2 separate regions of the Homo sapiens genome follow, and region 2 is linked to region 1. Evidence: promoter capture Hi-C in 16 types of primary human blood cells and fetal thymus (Javierre and others, 2016). All regions are on one chromosome and are shown on one strand. Each heading gives the region's core, a stretch centred on a gene start or on the middle of the fragment in contact. The rest is flanking DNA. Distances are from core to core; before and after follow the strand shown. Region 1 holds the start of CC2D1B (coiled-coil and C2 domain containing 1B). Region 2 has its middle 43 kb from the start of BTF3L4.

The links. The method cuts DNA at HindIII sites, captures the fragments that hold promoters and counts their contacts. A CHiCAGO score of 5 or more calls a contact.
Region 2: a fragment that was not itself captured here is called in contact with the fragment with the promoter of CC2D1B in region 1 in 1 of 17 cell types (endothelial precursors); the score reaches 5.1 in endothelial precursors.

The regions. Positions count from the first base shown.
Region 1 is chr1:52,364,833-52,367,995 of GRCh38, reverse strand. It overlaps CC2D1B (coiled-coil and C2 domain containing 1B), which reads left to right and starts at 1,791. Exons shown (of 25, transcript NM_001330585.2): 1 at 1,791-1,927. RefSeq lists silencers at 1,412-2,041, 2,082-2,191. The HindIII fragment of the contact is 5,331 bases long and covers 1,195-3,163 here.
Region 2 is chr1:52,097,443-52,100,558 of GRCh38, reverse strand. No RefSeq gene overlaps it. Among named protein-coding and RNA genes, the nearest start is that of BTF3L4, 43 kb to the right of the region's middle. The HindIII fragment of the contact is 1,024 bases long and covers 1,189-2,212 here.

The DNA of each region.
Region 1 (3,163 bases), core at 542-3,041:
GAGAGGATTGCTTGAGCCTGGGAGGTGCAGGTTGCAGTGAGTGGAGATCGCACCACTGCACTCTAGCCTGGGTGACAGAATGAGATCCTGTCTCAAAAAAAAAAAAAAGAAAAAAAGTAAGCAATCAGGAGATGGAAAAGCCCTTTGTCCAAGTAAACTGGGAGATCGCTAACTAGAAAACATAATTTAAAAGTTCAAGGCATAGGCAGGAGAGGAGATGGCAATGTTTTAGACAGAAGAAACTAATCCAGCAGTTTAACTTTAAAATACATTTTAAAACTTTTTTTCCTTTCTCTTGGGTTTCAAGATACAACCTTGAAGCAAACTGCAAAAGCCTTTTCCCTTAGCTGTAAAATAGACCCCATATCCCTCCCTTTCTCACTGTATATACTCCCTTCACATTTATCTTACTGTATGCTAGTATTTAATTATCTGCCTTCTGAGAAGTTCCAAGGGCTAATCTTGAGACAGACAAACCAAGCCTGGAGACACAGCTGCAAAATTCCAAAGATTACTTCAAGGTGGCTAGTCAACAGCGGGGCCATTGTGGAGATGAGACCAGCCCACGCTCCAGGTAGGCTGGGACCCAAGATAGCCACCAGAACAAGACACACAGACGTTGTACTCTGTACAATTCTTGCATGCTTCCCATATCAAATTTTCCTTTTAAGCCGTTCTCTTTCCCCCCAAAATCGAAGTGGTTACTTTAGATGGGAATCTGGCCACTTCCCCATTACTCCGCTCTCGGTTTTTTTGTTTGTTTTAGTTTGAGACAGGGTCTCACCTTGTCACCCGGGTTGGAGTGCAGTTGACAGCTCATTGCAGCTTGGACCTCCGGGGCCACAGCGATTCTCCTGCCTCGGCCTCTCAGTAGGTAGGACTACAGGCACGCACCACCACACCCGGCTAATATTTGTAATTTTTTGTAGAGACAGGGTTTCGCCATGTTGCCCAGGCTGGTCTCGGACTCCTGAGCTCAATCTCTTGTTAACTGGACTCTGCAAGCCGCAGGGAGAAACGTGCTTTCCTTAGAAAACTAGACTAGAGCATATTTACTGATGCTAAAGAGGTTGGTTTTGTATTTCCCTGGGCAAATAATTCTCTCTGAGCCTCCGTTTCTTCTAGAGATGATGTCCATCTTGCAGGATTGAGAACTGGTATAAGCTCCATTATGAAAAGTGACTGACACAAGCTTGGCAGAAAACGGGTATACTCCGTTTCTCTCCTTAATATCCTCCATGCCATTTGATTGCACAGCAGGGTAGGCGAGTGAGAACTTAGTGTTAGACTCTGTAAAGTATTTAAGATGTGCAGCGAGCTCTGCCTGTCTGAAGTTTTCAACGGACCGGAAAAGGATACTTTCAGGTGCTGAATTATTAAGAAACATATGGTGGGCCCCATTTCCATTTCCCCAGGCTTAAAGGACATGGACAAGCAGGTGAGCCCCGCCCCTGTCTCTCTTCCAGGGCGGAGCTTGGGTAGGCCCCGCCCTCTTGCTCGGTGGGGCGGGGCGAGGGCTGGAGGCGGGGTAGGTCCAGCGAGCGAGCGAGCGCCCAGCGCCTCGGGCTGAGTGAGGGAGGAGGTTCGGTGGAGAGGCTGCAAGTGGGCGAGGGCTGGGCGCAGCGACCTCATTGGAGCCGGCCGGTGGACGCCCCGGCGGAACCGCCCAGAGTTCCTGTCCTGCGCTACCTACCCGAACGCGCCTGCGCGCTGCGAACCCCGCCCCGGTGTCACCTGTTGGAGCCCCCCGCCCGCGTAGCCGTGCACATGCGCACTGCCGGCCGCCGGCCAGTGGGGTCACGTGTTGCGCGCGAGCCACCTCCCCTGCTGGCGCTTCCTGTCGCTACCGCTGCGGCCCAGGGCCCGCGGGAGCCCAGGGCGGTGCCGGGTGAGACAAGGCCGGGGTTTGGCTCGGATTCACCGCGAGGTATGCCGCGTCCCCGCCCCTCGGCGTGGGGAGTTCTGGGGACCGCGGGGGTAGATGGAGGCGGCGCGGGCGGGGCAGGGCGGCGCGTCCCGCAGCGCGGGAGTGGGGGTCCCGTGTCGCCTCCCCCTACGGACTCCGTTGCCCACCTTCCGTGAGGCCTGGCTGTGTCATCGGGGCCGCAGCCTTGGAGTGTCTGGCCTCGCTTTCACCTGAGCCGGAGTCACTCCCGAAATCTGACACTCAGAGTCCCCCGGAGCGCCCGCCAGCTCCTCCGCCCGCTCCCCGCCGCCTCCACGCCCGTCAGCTGGTCTCCCCGCCAGCGCTGTGGCGAGATGCGCCGGCTTCCTGCCTTTTCCCCCTACCTTCTGTGCACCTCCCCTTTGGTGCCAGAATGGGGTTTCTGAAACACCGATACGATCCCGCCACTTCTTTCCCAGCGCCCTCAGAATAATGCCCAAACGCTTTTCGGCTTAGAGGTTTTCATATTCTGCCGCTTGCTCACATTTCCACCTCGGCTTGTGCATTCAGGCCTCACCGCTTATGCCCCAGTCATACCAGGCCTCAGGTTCCATTGTACAGGCCAAGCTGCTCCCCACTTCAGAGCCGTCAAGTGTTCCCTCGTCTTGGAATCCTATTTCCCTCTTTCCCCCAACTTCTTTGCGTGACTCAGCTCAGGCGTCACCGCCTCGAAGGAGGAGCCTTTTCTCCCAGGGCTGAAGAAGGGGTCACCTCAGGGCACCCATGGCCCCTGGGGCAACCCCGTGTAGTCCACCTCCACCCTGTAAATGGTCATTGAAGGCTGAGACCGTCTTAGGTTCATTTCTGCGCTCCCAGTGCCCAGCGCAAGGTCTGACACAGGAGGTCCTGTGAATAACTGTGAGATCTTTATGGGAATCAGAATGCTGAGCCAGCTTTCTCCAGAGCTCAGCTGTGAGATGGAACTTTGATGACATGTCCTTGGATGATGAAAATGTTCTGTGTGTGTGCTGTCTGGTCATAGCCCCTCACCACATATGGCTGTTAAGCACTTGGAATGTGTCTGTTGTGGCTGATGGACTGGATTTTTAGCTTTATTTCATTTTAATTCATTGAAATTTAAAATTAAATAGCCAGCTGTGGCTTCCATAAGCACAGCTTTAGAGCCTTTCTGAATTCTACCCAGCCTTCCACCCACCCTGAACCTAGAGTACTTCCCTGAATGTGCTTTTTAAATTTGAGTCCGTTCAGAACATTCCT
Region 2 (3,116 bases), core at 451-2,950, 270 kb after region 1:
AATGACAGAGTTTAGTGCCTCCCTCAAAACTTTAAAGAATGCAAGAATGGGCCAGGCGCGGTGGCTCACGCCTGTAATCCTAGCACTTTGGGAGGCCGAGGCAGGCGGATTGCCTGAGCTCAGGAAGTTTGAGACCAGCCTGGGCAACATGATAAAACCCCGTCTCCACTAAAAAATACAAAAAATTAGCCAGGTGTGGCAGCGTGTGCCTGAGTCCCAGCTATTAGGGAGGCTGAGGCAGGAGAATGGCTTGAACCCGGGAGGCGGAAGCTGCAGTGAACCGCGGTCACACCATTACACTCTAGCCTGGGTAACAGAGAGAGACTCTGTCTCCAAAAAAAAAAAAAAAAAAAGAATGCCAGAAGGATGGTCCCTGTGACATTTCCATTTAACAGTTTTAATTTTTTTTTCTTAATTTTTCTTAACCTCTGCCTCCTGAGTTTAAGTGATTCTCATGCCTCAGCCTCCAGAGTAGCTGGAATTACAGGCGCATGCCACCACGCCTGGCTAATTTTTGTATTTTTAGTAGAGACGGGGTTTCACCATGTTGGCCAGGCTGGTCTCGAACTCCTGCCATCAAGTGATCTGCCCACCTCGGCCTCCCAAAGTGCTGGGATTACAGGTGTGAGCCATCATGCCCGGCTTCAAATGCCCTTGCTCTAAGATCATTTGGTGGCAAGGAACAGTCTCTCAAGCTGGCTTAAACGGAATGATGGTGGCAGAGGGAGGTGTTTTTAAGAACACAAAAATCTCACTGACAAGTTAGCAACCCAGGGACAGAAAAAGGACAGCCAGGCATCATAGGACAGAAATTGTGAAATCATTTTCTGAGACTGTTCTCTTTTTAGGGTTGTCTATTATTTCGGCTTCATTCTTATAGCTTCCACTGCTTGTACCTGGCCCAGTGTGAGTGTTCTAGCTCCATCCTACAGGATCGTTCAGTCCAAGGGTCCATTAGCATCTGATTCAGTCTTAGTACAGAATCCTTAGAAATAAATGGATTGGCTCAGCTGTTAGTCTATGGATTGGTTCTTGGGTCACTGTTTTGCCCTCGGTCTGAGCATCTATTACTGGTGTGGAGTCACGCTCTGTAAACATGGCTGTCTAGGCTTCTTAAGAAGGATATGTGGATGTAAAACAATATTAGAATGGGTGTGAGTTGGGCTAAATACACTGTGATAACAAGCTTGCTCTAGCAAACATAAAGATGGGATGAAGATCCTTTTCTTCTGTGACACTTAAAAAGAGTCTGTAGCACTGACCTGGTCCTTGGTATGACCTTTTATTTTTTGAGTGTATGCTATTTTCTAACAACTGTAATACTGTGGAGGTAGGGATTAGTGCCAACTCATCTCTGACTCCTCAGAGTACCAACTCAAAGTTTCTCAGCACTGTGGTCTTGGGAATGACTTATTGCTGAGGTAAACTGTATCCATAATGTTTTTGATCGGTTAGACTTACCTACAGTTGGCTGATCTCTTCCACATGGGGTTCCTAGAGGCATTTCACAGGTTTTTTTTTGTTGTTATAGTAAAATATTCATAAAGTTGACCCAGTATAGTGGCTCATGCCTGTAATGCCAACACTTTGGGTGGCCAAGGCAGGCAGATTTCTTGAGTCCAGGAGTTCAAGACCAACCTGGGCAACATGGCGAAACCCTGTCTCTACCAAAAAAAAAGTACAAAAATTAGCTGGGCATGGTGGTACACACCTGTAGTCCTAGCTACTTGGAAGGCTGTAGCAGGAGGATTGCTTGAGTTCAGGAAGCGGAGGTTGCAGCAAGCCAAGAACAAACCACTGCACTCCAGCCTGGGTGATAGAACAAGACCCTGTCTAGAAAACACACACACACACACACACACACACACACACACATACACACACACACACGATATACATAGTTTGTCATTTTAACCAATTTTGAGTACACAATTCAGTAGCATTAAATACATTCATATTGTTGTGCAAACATCATGACTATCCATCTCCACAACTTTTTCATCCATTCCAAACTCAAACTCTGTACTCACTACACAATAACTCTCCATTCTGCACTCCCTTTCTACCCCATAGTAATTCTTTCTGTCTCTATGAATTTGATCATGCTAAGGCAGGAGTCGCCAACCCCCAGGCCATGACCCATATTGATCAGTGACCTGTTAGGAACCAGACTGCACAGCAGGAGGTGAATAGAGAGTGAGTGAACAAAGCTTCGTCTTTATTTACAGCTGCTCCCCATTGTTTGCATTACTGCCTGAGCTCCGCCTCCTGTCAGATCAGTAGCAGCATTAGATTCTCATAGAAGCGTGAACCCTGTTGCGAACTGCACATGCGAGGAATCTAGGTTGTGGGCTCCTTATGCAAATCTAATGCCTGATAATGGGTCACTGTCTCATATGACCCCCAGATGGGGCAGTCTAGTTGCAGGAAAACAAGCTCAGGGCTCCCACTGATTATACATTATGGTGAGTTGTGTAATTATTTCATTACATACTACAATGTAATAATAATAAAGTACACAATAAATGTAATGCACTTGAACCTTCCCAAAACCATCCCCCAGTATGCCCCCAACTGGTTTGTGGAAAAAATTGTCTTCCATGAAACCAGTTCCTGGTGCCAAAAACGTTGGGGACCACTATTCTAAGGTACCTCATATAAGTGGAATCATATAACATTTGTTCTTTTATGTCTCGCTTATTTCACTTAGCATAATGTTTTAAAGGTTCATCCCTGTTGTAGCATGTGTCAAAATTTCCTTCCTTTTAAAGGCTGAAAAATATTCTGTTGCATGTACATACCATATTTTGTTTATCCATCCATCCATCCATCAATGGGCACTTGAGTTACTGTTGTGAATAATGCTGCTATGAACATTGGTGTACAAATATGTTTGAGTCCCTGCTTTCAATTCCTTTGGATATATACCTAGAGGTAGAATTGTTGGATCATATGGTAATTCTACATTTAATTTTTTGAGGACCCTCCACATTGTCTTCCACAGTGGTTGTACCATTTTACATTCCCACCAGCAATGTACAAGGATCCCAATTTCTCCACATCCTGACACTTATTTTTTATAATAACCACCCTAATAGGTTCACATCTATTAGGTG